4 separate regions of the Homo sapiens genome follow, and regions 1, 3 and 4 are each linked to region 2. The links are contacts of gene promoters, found by promoter capture Hi-C in human tissues and cell types (Jung and others, 2019). All regions are on one chromosome and are shown on one strand. The core of a region is centred on a gene start or on the middle of the fragment in contact, and the rest is flanking DNA. Distances in the headings are between cores, read along the strand shown.

Region 1 (2,742 bases), core at 215-2,714, 860 kb after region 2:
CTTAAAATAAAAACTTAAAAAATCTTCCTTGTCCTATTTAAACATAATTCTTGGTATTGAGGTAAATCTGAATTCACATGATATGCTTTGTCAAATTTTTCCAAAAACTTTTTTTTTTTTTTTTTTTTTTGGAGACAGAGTCTCACTCTGTTGCCCAGGCTGGAGTGCAGTGGCATAGTCTTGACTCACTGCAACCTCTGCCTCCCGCATTCAAGCGATTTTCCTGCCTCAGCCTCCCAAGTAGCTGGGACTACAAGTGCGCACCACCATGCCTTGCTAATTTTTGTATTTTTAATAGAGACGGGCTTTCACCATGTTGGCCAGACTAGTCCTGAACTTCTGACCTCAGGTGATCCACCTGCCTCGGCCTCTCAAAGTGCTGGGATTACAAGCATGAGCCACCACACCCAGCCCTGTTTTGCTTATAATTTAAAGATTTAAAAAATATTACAAATCATATACTTGACAACTATGTAAATTTGTTTTGACAATGTTAGGTGTAATCCCAAAATGCATGAAGAAATGCATTGATTTAAAAAATTTATTTGGGGATATTCTAGAAAAGTTTTTGAAGGCCATTATTTTAAGATATCTCTGATCTTCTGATCTTCAACCTATGTGAAAAGATTACCTAAGCCATGGCACATGTTTACAGGGCTTCATTTCAGCTTGATACCTGCCCAGCCTCCATCTAAAAGCAAAACTTGCTCTCAGGTACAGACTGATTTTGTGCATGTGGAAATAAAAAGAATTGGGATTAGCCAGTCACAGACTTCACAAAATGTTCCAGTACTGTAGTAACTGAATTGCTGCCAGGAGCAGCTGTAAATAAGAAAGAAATTCGCTGTCCTTCAACTGCAATCCTTCTGGTTTTAAAACCACAACAAAAATCCTCTCCTGGATCACCACAACATAAATGAAGAATCTTAAAAAGAACATCCTGGCCAAGCGCAGTGGCTCATGCCTGTAATCCCAGCACTTTGGGAGGATGAGGCAGGCAGATCACTTGAGGTCAGGAGTTCGAGACCAGCCTGGCCAACATGGTGAAATCCCATCTCTACTGAAAATATAAAAATTAGCCAGGCATGGTGGCGCATGCCTGTAATCCCAGCTACTCAGGAGGCTGAGGCAGGAGAATCACTTGAACCTGGGAGGCAGTGATTGTGGTGAGTTGAGACTACACCACAGCACTCCAGCCTGGGCGACAGAGCGAGGCTCCATCTCAAAAAAACAACAATAAAAAAATCCTATTAGGAATACAAAAGCTTAAATTAAAAACAAACAAAATACCGAGACTGAACTACAGTGGCCCTAGGATCTATTGTAAAACGCATGTTTAGTAAAGGCAACTAGTGTAATCTCAGACCAGTCTGTCAAGTTCTCTGCTACGGTTTACTGTTTCCAAAGATACAAAGCACTCACTCAACTCAGTAAATATTTTTTGGATACCTATGCAACAGGTGCTAAGGGAAATCCAAAGTTCCATGCTAAAAGATTGCTACCTGCAAGGATCTTGGTTTAGTAGAGAAGGGGAATCAGTTTCCAAAAAGACTGAGAAAGGTGTCACTTATTCCTGTGAGGGGCTTTAGAAGAATTAGTGGCAATATGAAAAAATATATACTTTCACAAAGCTTGAGTGGAAAAGAAAGTTGAAAAAGGGACATTAGCTGGAGGAGGATGTAGAATAAATACGTTGTTTTAGGATTTATTCAATACATTTTTATTTACCACATTTATTAGGTACTGTTTTACATCCTGGTGATTAAGCAGAGAATAAAATAGACAGAGCCCCTCTGTTTTAATTAGGGAATTGGCTAAGCTGCTCTACCAGGTCCAAACAAACAATGATTTTTTAAAGAACAAAGTTTATTTTCTCTTGCATAATGGTCCAGAAGTCTGTGGTTGATCCAAGGGAGGAGGTGCCCCAGCTCCCTGAGATTAGTTTGGGACTTAGGCTAGTGAGAACAGCTTTGCCTTCCTTAATACATGGCTTCCATTTCCAGTCTGTATTTCTTTTTGCCATTTGCCAGACAGCAAGAAGAGGGAAGAGAAAGTGTATAGCAAGCAGCTTTCCTTTTAAGGGACATGATCCAGTTCTACTCACATCTTACAGGACATAACTTTTTGATATAGCCTTACCTTGCTGAAAGGGAGGCCAAGGAATGTCATGTCTAAGTAGGTCACCAAGTGCCCTGCTCAAATTTGAATGTAGAGTTATTTCCTCTTACTAAAAAGAAAAAAAATACAGAATGAAAACTGGAGATAAGGAGAAGACACAGTCTAGAAGATAACTATAGGAAAGTAAAGAGATGGCGACGTATGTGAAGTTGTGGTGTCATAAAGACAACAACAAAGGAGCTAATTTATAGGTAGTCAGTGACAAGTGAGCAGTCTTGAGTAAAGGGAGAGTATGAGTCATGTAGATTTCTGCATTCCAGACAGAGGGAATAGCTAGTGAAGAAGCCCTGAGGCAAGAGCATGCTTGTCATGTTTAAGGAACAGTGAAGTCACAGGGATAAAAGACAAACCAGAAGAAAGTGATGATATGCAACAAAGTGAATGAGACATGTCAAGAGAGGAAGTAGTCAAGAACAACAGAAGTTGCAAGAGTGAAGCTTTGGCCATTGAAACTGGCAGCATGGAGCTCACAGGTGACCTTGACAAGTGGCAGTTTCGTGGCATGGTGGGCATGAAGGACTGAATGGAGTGAATTCAAGGGAGAGAGGGGGAAGTGGAATTACA
Region 2 (2,882 bases), core at 10-2,509:
CAGCCTGGGCAACAAAGCGAAACTTGTCTCAAAAACAAACAAACAAACAAACAAAAAACAAACAACAAAAAATGAATTCTGTAATACTCATCTATTTTCTTACTCTTTTAAATAAAGATCAGAAAATCCACAGGATGCCCTAAATAAAGGAATACAGTCGGCATAATTGAGTCTTTATTTGCAGAAACTTCAGTGTGCTACTCAAAAGGATCTTTTATTGAAGAACTTACGCTCACTTAACTAGGATACGGGGGACAGAACACTGGCCTGGGAGATAAAACTCCAGAGTTCTACTATGAGCAACTCCACCCACAAAACCTCGGACAAGTCACCCACCTGCTAAGGCCCTTCCCCTAGCAAATGAGGCAGCAAGAGATAGTTCCTGCAGGCTGTTCCTGCACTACAACGTATGATTCCACAAGAGCAGACCTAAGGGGGAATCAGCACTTAAATGAGAGAACAGAGGTGCTGACGGACGTTTAGATACGGTAGCAATCTGGAGCAGAGAGAGGAGGAAGGGCTGCTGGGGTGAGGGGGGAGTGGAGACAACGTCCGCAGCTGAGGCTGGTGACACCCCCCACGCCCCCGTAAGCCTCGTCCTCGCCGGACCCTGCCTTCAAACCCAAACACACGTCACTCCTGCAAGCGATCGAGACCTTCCACTGTCCCTCACTCTAAGGTGCCCTACACGCGGTGACTTCACCCAGGCCCTTCTCGCCCCGGGCCCGCAAACCCACGACTTACCCTCCTGGGGCTCCGCAGCCTCTGCCCCACCGCTCCCGACAGGCCGGGGCGGGATTGCTGTCGCGGGCGCGCGTCTGCTCGCGAGGTCCCTTCCTGTCCACCTCACCAAGGCCGTTCTGCTCCAGAGGGGCCCGGGCCGGGCCTACGGGACAAATCCAGGCGGGGCGTCCCTCCCGGAGCCCAGATCCGTCTCCCTGGGGCTCACCGTCCTGCGGAGCCGGGGCCGGGCCGTCGAGGACGCACACGGGCCGGGCCCGGGTCCCGCCGCCCCTTCGCCTCCGCCGTCGTCACCGCCCGGCCGGCCCCTTGGGCCCCAGCGCCGTCGGCTCCGGGGGTCGTGCTCGGGGATCCCCGCTTGAGCCTCCGCCTGGCCCGCACAGCCCCGCGCCCGCTTGGGTGCCGGCCCGGCTCTTCGGCGCCCAGCCCCGCAGGCTCCGCGATTCTCGCCCACCGGAGGCCAAAGCCTGGGAACTAGGGCGAGCGGTGACCTGGGGACGCACAGGAAGCGAGGGCACTGCGGCCGCGGCGCGCATGCGCGAACACGCACACAGAGAGGGGTGCACATGCGCAGGAATGCACCGGAAGTCCGCCTCCCGGGACCCGCCGCCGGTCCCAGGACAAATACCGTGACTCTATTTCCCATGAGCCTACGCGCTCCCCAAATTTAGGAGCCATTTGAAATGTCTCTATCTGGTCTAGCGGTTAAGAGGCTCTATGCTAAGAGAATTGGCAACGCCGAACCCCAGACTCAAATTTCTCCTTAGTTTAAGGGAACGTCTTCATGGGGATGTCTTGACTATCTTTAAGGGAACGTCTAGAAAGTCTCTGCTTCCTGTAGCATCTCGTAGACCATGCCTGGGCCAGTCCTGCCTTACCGGAGAGCTCAAGGCTTAAAATCAATGTCCATGTGCAACCGTGACAAATGGAACAAGAGGGTGCATCATGCTAGCTTATGATCACAATGACACATTTAACGAAAACTTCAGTAAATAGAGCCCATGGATGAAATAATAGAGGATTAGCCTGGGACAGGATACCATCCTCGCCCCAACAAGGAGAAAAAGAATTCCAGCTTTTCCAAATCACTTTGAATTAGTGATAGCTAGAAAACTCAGAGAATATGTACAGAATTGAAAGAAGAAAAAAATTAGCCAGAACTCTACTTCCTGAAGAGGATGAGGCAAGCAGAAGAAGAAATTTGCGTCTTAATGGAAAACGAAGCACATTTAGAAAGCCATGTTACTTGATTCCAACCCTGTTCCTTATCTTTGAGGTATTTTACACCTCTTTGAAAACTGTAGGTAATCGATGCAAGTTATGTTCTGTCTGGTGGAAGTTGGTTGACTTCCCACAATCCCCACTAGAGAAAATGCAGTTTTGACTGCATTTCTCCATTTACATAATCATTTCAATATTCCTGATCTGAAAATATGTCTGTTTCTCAGATTCTCTCTCTCTCTCTCTTTTTTTTTTTAATTTTGAGACAGGGTCTCACTCTGCTGTGCATGCTGGAGTTCAGTGGCGAGATCTTGGCTCACTGGTTCAAGGAATTCTCCTGCCTCAGCCTCCCAAGTAACTGGGATTACAGGTGCACACCACCAAGCCCGACTAATTTTTGAATTTTTAGTAGAGATGGGGGTTTCACCATGTTGGCCAGGCTGGTCTTAAACTCCTGACCTCAAGTGATCCACCCGCCTCAGCCTCCCAAAGTGCTGGGATTACAGGCATGAGCCACCATGTCCAGCCCTCAGATTCTCTTTTGAACCAGTTATAATATCTGCCTGTTTCCTCTTGAATTAAATAAAATCTTTAGCATGTGCTCATTTTTATATCTGTATCAGAGTCATGATTTTACTTTTATGTTTTAAGGTTTTCCAGGTCTTTGCAGAAGTCCCTGATGGAATCACATGACTGAGCCAGGAAAACCTCAGGACTGGAGTGCCTCATGAACTGTTGAAGCCCAGGTGAATCTTTTCTTGGCTCCCAGGAATGAGTCCAAAGTGCCAGTAGAAATTTGCTGGCTTCTCATTTTTCAGTAATTTCCCCATTTACCAATCCTGTGTTTTACTTTGGTTTGCATTTGTTTACATTGCTAGCATCACTGATTGGGACTTTGTTTGTTTTTGTTGTTTCAAGGC
Region 3 (2,738 bases), core at 210-2,709, 940 kb after region 2:
TTGGAATTTTGATCAAAATTGCACTGTATCCTTGGATGTATTTCAGGAAAAGTAACACCTGAATGTCAACTCTTACTATCCTTGAGCCATTTTGGTCCTCTTAAAATCTTTCCAAAAGGTCTCATACTTTTCTACATAAAAGTTTTGACTTTTAGCTTAGATTTATTCCTAGATACCTTGTTTTTGTTGCTATTATGAATGGTATCATTTTTTAAATTAAAGATTTTAACTGATTGTTTTGGTATATAGAAATGCCATTTTAAGAATTTTCTATCAGTTTTTTTTGGAATTTTCTATTCATATTTGAATAATTATAGTTTTGTTTCTTAAGAATTCTTACATATTTTATTTATCTTTCTTACCTTTTGCCTAGGATAGAGCCTTCAGTACCATTTTGAATAGAAATAGTGTTTAAGTCAAGATGGGGTTTAGCTGCATAAACAAAAGTATCTTTAATGCACAAACGCTTATTCTCACATGTGAAAGAAGTCCACAGCTGTGCAACTTAGTACTTATGTGGTAGTGCACTAAGACTCAGGGCCCCAGGTTCTTTCTGTCTTTCTGTAGTTCTACATTCAATATCTAGTTCCATATTTATGGTTATCTCATAGGCCAGGTAAGTGATGGAGCTTCAGCTATCAAGTAAATCCACGTTCTATGTGGCAGAGAAGTGGACCCGCATTCAGCTTCCTTTAAGGAGTATTCCCCGAAGTCCTTCCCAACTTGAATTTCTGTTTATTAGATTAAGGAATTTTCCTTCTATTCCTAGTTTGATAAGCATTTTAATTGAATTGTTACGGAATTTGATCAAATGCATTTTTTGCCTTAATTGAGATGATTGAAATGAGTATGTATTTTTCAGTGTTTGAACCAAGCTCACATTCTTGGAAGCTTGGTTATGATATATTGTCTTTTATATATATTCCTGGATTTGATTTGCTGTTGTTTTTGTTTAGGATTTTTTTTTTTTTAATCTATGTTCATGAGTGAGATTGGTCTGTAATTTTCCTTTTTTGTATAGTCCTTGTCAAAATTTGGCATTATGGTTATAAGACAGGAGAATTCCCTGGACCCCTTTGTGGGACTTGGAACCAGGGTGTGGCTCGTTTGCTCGGCTGCCGTGTACTCAAACCCCTTACGGGAGAGGGAGCATGCAGGTGAGCAGGTGCAGGAGTTGGGGTGAGTGATTTGGGCCTCCAGCCCCATGGCAGTGTCTAGGGGCGTTACAGTGCTCTTTTAGCCCTGCCGTCTGGGAATGGCTTAAGTGTTAAATAGCTCAGTAGAGTCAGTGTGACAGCCTTTTTGGGTTCCCACACCCAGTGCATCCTGAATTCTTGTCTAGCATCGAGGAGGAATCAGGTTACATGGGCTTGAAAGATGGTGAATGTGGGCATTTTATTGAGTGATGGAGGTGGCTCTCAGTGGGATGGTGATACGGTTTGGCTGTGCCCCACTCAAATCTCATCTTGAATTGTAGCTCCCATAATTCCCATGTGTTGTGGGAGGGACCCGATGAGAGATAACTGAATCATGGGGACAGTTTCCCCCATACTGTTCTCGTGGTAGTGAATAAGTCTCACGAGATCTGATGGCTTTATAAGGGGAAACCCCTTTCGCTGGATTTTTTTTTTTTTTTTTTTTTTTTTAATTCTCTCGTCTGACACCATGTAAGACGTACCTTTTGCTTTCCGCCATGATTGTGAGGTCTCCCCAGCCACGTGGAACTGTGAGTCCATTAAACCCCTTTTTCTTTATAAATTACCCAGTCTCAGGGGTGTCTTTATCAGCAGTATGAAAATGAACTAATACAGATGGGGAGCTGGAGAGGGGATGGAGTGGGAAGATGATCTTCCCTTGGAGTTCGGCTGTCCCATGGCCAATCTCCTCTCTGACCGTCCCCAGCCAAACTCCCCTCGACACTCAGATGCTTCCTCTCTTCTCTCCTCTGCTGCACCATTCTGCTGCTCTGCCACTCTTCTGCTCATGGAGCCTGGGGTTTGGGGTTTATATGGGCACAGAATAGGGGTGACATATTGGGCCAAAAGGCAACATTTGGGTGCAAAAACAGCCTGTTCACATTTAGGGCTATGGGTCCAGGCTTAAGGGTGGAGCCCTCGCCAGGGACCCCACCCTTCTGCCGCTTGTCCGTATCAGTTACACTAGTTTTGTGAAATTAGTGTGGAGTGTTTCTTTTATTTATTCTCCAAGATTGTACATAAAACTGAAATTATCTATTGAGTGTTTGGTAGTGTTCACCTATAAAACCTTTTAGATCACTATAGTTATCTTTGACTAGAGCTTTAGACATTTCCCACAAGTTTTTATAAGCAGGTGTACATTAAGTTCTAGGTATTTTCTAGTTTTCAGCATATTTCTTTTTTGACCCATGCATTATTTTTGTTTCAAAATGTATAGGTTTTATTAAAGTTATTTTGATAATTCCCAGTGAAACTGCATTATAATCTGAGGGTATGGTTTGTCTAATTCTTTGCAATTATATGAGACTAATTCTTTGAAATTATGTGAGGCTTGCTTTAAGGCTTATTAGGAACATGGACAATTTTTCATGTGTGCTTGGCAAAAAAATGTATTTTCCAGTTGTTGGATCCAGTGTGTAAATTGCACTGTTCACATAATTCTGTTTTCTTTTTGTCTGCTTAATATCTCAATTATCGATAAATATGTGACATAGCCTATAGATGGTAGCATTGTCAAATTTCTCCTTGAAGCCCTGATGA
Region 4 (2,842 bases), core at 43-2,542, 910 kb after region 2:
GACTGTATCCTATGAATAGTTATGGAAATGAATAAATAAGCTTTTTAGAAACAGTTTACAGAGTCATAAACACTTAAATATTTGCGCCTGAATTTTCTCATCAATTCTTTAGGTGTTTTCCCCTAAACAAAAGAATCTGTCTTTATTTTTCATGAAATCACTTTTCTATTTTGGCATACATTTCTTTTTCATTTTAAAGTCTGCAATCTTCATTATATAACCTGCAGGCTATATGAGTGAGGTAATCCACTCTCCCTCTCTGTTGGAGGGAGAATGTTTTCCTGTGCCACTCTGTAATTTGTTTTGCAACAATTATTGCTATTTGTAAGCATATCTTGTAATCACAAGATACATGTAGCTGAATTTAGAATCTGTTGAGAACACAGAAGGCAGCAGCAGTGTTTCTAAATGTCACTGACTTAATGATTTTAACTAATAAAATTTTTAAAGATTCAAATGCATCAACCCAAATCATCCATTTCTGAAATGTATTTTAGATAAATCCCTTGAAGTGTTCTTTTGTTGCAAATGGGTGTCATTATGCATTAGTTTCTTTCTCCAAATCCCTGCAATCCCCTAACCTAATTTCCAATAAGACAATCTATCAGACAATTTATCTCTAGTTCCTGTGTTTTAAAATTATGGAAGCTAAATGTTGTGTTCCAGATTGTTTAGGGAGTCATACCTAGAAGCATTTTGTGCCTTATACTTCTTTCTACTCTTTTGATTAAGAAAACATAAATGTGTATATAACTGGTATATTTTCCAATTATTTTAGGCGAACGTCGCAAATGTATTTTGGCCCTTTTGCGGGGGCCTATTTTTCCTTTTAAAAAGTACCAACCATTCAACTTTGAATAACAGATTATACAGTGGAGCATTATTTTTTTGAAAAATAAATTATCTTAGGTAGAATTTTAGAGTTTGTATATACTCATCATTTATTTTCCCTGTACTGCTTAAAATGTATTCTTAAATTTGTATGTTGGGTCAGGCGCGGTGGCTCACACCTGTAATCCCAGCACTTTGGGAGGCCGAGGCAGATGGATCACAAGGTCAGGAGTTCGAGACCAGCCTGGCCAATATGTGAAACCCCGTCTCTACTAAAAATACAAAACATTAGCCGGGTGTGGTGGCGCTTGCCTGTAGTCCCAGCTACTTGGGAGGCTGAGGCAGGAGAATCGCTTGAACTCAGGAGGTGGAGGTTGCAGTGAATCGAGATCGCACCACTGCACTCCAGCCTGGGTGACAGAGTGAGACTCCGTCTCAAAAAAAAAAAAAAATTATGTTAAATAGGTTTAGGTTATGAGATGAAGAGAAAGTAGGAAAAGCAACATAGAACATATTTTATTGCTATTGAAATGTTATTTTTATTTTCCTTGAAAAGGGATAAAGTGGGATATTAGTGCCAATTTTGGCAGGTGAGTGGTCTGGTGACAAATAACACAGTAATAAATTGATTGTCCCCTTATATCTCCACTGCTAACTGAAGTTTACATTGGGCAAAGAAGATAGAAGCCTTTGCAGCTGCCTTAAATTCTGCTGTGGAAACAAGTGTTGCATATATATATAATTTTTTTTTTTGAGTCACAGTCTCACTCTGTCACCCAGGCTGGAGCACAGTGGCGTGATCTCAGCTCACTACAACCTCCACCTTCTGGCTTCAAGAGATTCTCCTGCCTCAGCCTCCCAAGTAGCTGGGATTACAGGTGCATGCCACCACGCCCAGCTAATTTTTGTAGTTTTAGTAGAGACGAGGTTTCACCATGTTAGCCAGGCTGGTCTTGAACTCCTGACCTCAGGTGATTCACCTGCCGTGGCATCCCAAAGTGCTGGGATTACAGGCGTCAGCCACTGTGCGCAGCCATAAATATATATGTGTTACCTTGAGTTGTTTTCATGACTTACTTACACTGTGGAGAGTGAAGGAAATTGCTCAGTGGGTCAATTCCTTGAGGTCACCGAGTCCCAACAGAAATAGTCCACAAATTCCCCTGGTTTAGAGGCAATGATTTCTAATTCCTAGCTCCCCACTTGGTCCACCGTATGTTCATCTGGAAAACATTTAGTCATTTCCAAGGAGATTCTAAAATGAGGCAACTCGTGGTCAACTGTCTGCCTTTCATAACAGGTCAATCAAATATATGACCAACAAAGACATACATTTCTGAGCCATATGGAAAAAATAATTGACTAAATGGGACCCTGATCACTTAAAAGAATAGATGCGTCTCTTAAAAAGAAAATGTATTCTCTCATCAGTTCCAATATTTTCATAACATTTAAAGCTCTCAAATGCTAAATAAAAATATGAAAACATTTGAGTGAAATGTGGCACTGTTTCTGATTTTCTGTAAGGTTATGATAAATTTACTTGACACAATTTAACTTTAAATGATCATGTCGTGTTAAGCAGAATTAAATTAATGAAAATAAATGTCACCATCTAAATAATAAATATTTCCTAATTGAGTAGCTAAGGTAAAAATAATGCTAAATTATCTAGTTTTTTAATTAGTAATTATTCAACAGAAGATTTCTCCCTGCTAATTATCTTTCAAGATTCAGATGAAAAGATACTAAGATCTTTTAACAAAACCATTCATTTAAGCCCATTATTAAACAGACTATATTACCTTAACATTTTATGGTATGAAATTCTCACAGTCAAAATCATTGGCTTGTTTTCCTGGGTAATATTTCAAACTCCTGTGAAAAATGAATAGTTGCTTAGAAAAGGGGGCTAATTAAGTCATAGTGTCATTTACGGCATTGCCCAAAACTGTCACTCTGCTCACATATTTTCCTTCAACTTACAGGCCTCGCTATTTTCTGATAACTG

The links. Contacts are between HindIII fragments. The study calls those that stand out against the background at their distance.
Region 1: a fragment that was not itself captured here is called in contact with the fragment with the promoter of ZNF12 in region 2 in 1 of the 25 tissues and cell types used here (dorsolateral prefrontal cortex).
Region 3: a fragment that was not itself captured here is called in contact with the fragment with the promoter of ZNF12 in region 2 in 1 of the 25 tissues and cell types used here (dorsolateral prefrontal cortex).
Region 4: a contact is called between a fragment that was not itself captured here and the fragment with the promoter of ZNF12 in region 2, in 1 of the 25 tissues and cell types used here (dorsolateral prefrontal cortex).

Annotation. Positions count from the first base shown.
Region 1 is chr7:7,562,098-7,564,839 of GRCh38, forward strand. MIOS-DT (MIOS divergent transcript) reads right to left here. Exons shown (of 5, transcript NR_110084.1): 2 at 2,140-2,227. Among named protein-coding and RNA genes, the nearest start is that of MIOS-DT, 2.6 kb to the right of the region's middle. The HindIII fragment of the contact is 3,978 bases long and covers 1-2,742 here.
Region 2 is chr7:6,705,688-6,708,569 of GRCh38, forward strand. ZNF12 (zinc finger protein 12) reads right to left here and starts at 1,260. Exons shown (of 5, transcript NM_016265.4): 1 at 745-1,260. RefSeq lists a silencer at 876-1,235 and an enhancer at 929-1,428. The HindIII fragment of the contact is 19,528 bases long and covers 1-2,882 here.
Region 3 is chr7:7,644,860-7,647,597 of GRCh38, forward strand. The region is part of intron 4 of RPA3 (replication protein A3); the gene reads right to left. All of the region lies in intron 1 of UMAD1 (UBAP1-MVB12-associated (UMA) domain containing 1), which reads left to right. Among named protein-coding and RNA genes, the nearest start is that of UMAD1, 5.5 kb to the left of the region's middle. The HindIII fragment of the contact is 8,445 bases long and covers 1-2,738 here.
Region 4 is chr7:7,620,488-7,623,329 of GRCh38, forward strand. No RefSeq gene overlaps it. Among named protein-coding and RNA genes, the nearest start is that of UMAD1, 19 kb to the right of the region's middle. The HindIII fragment of the contact is 3,021 bases long and covers 1-2,803 here.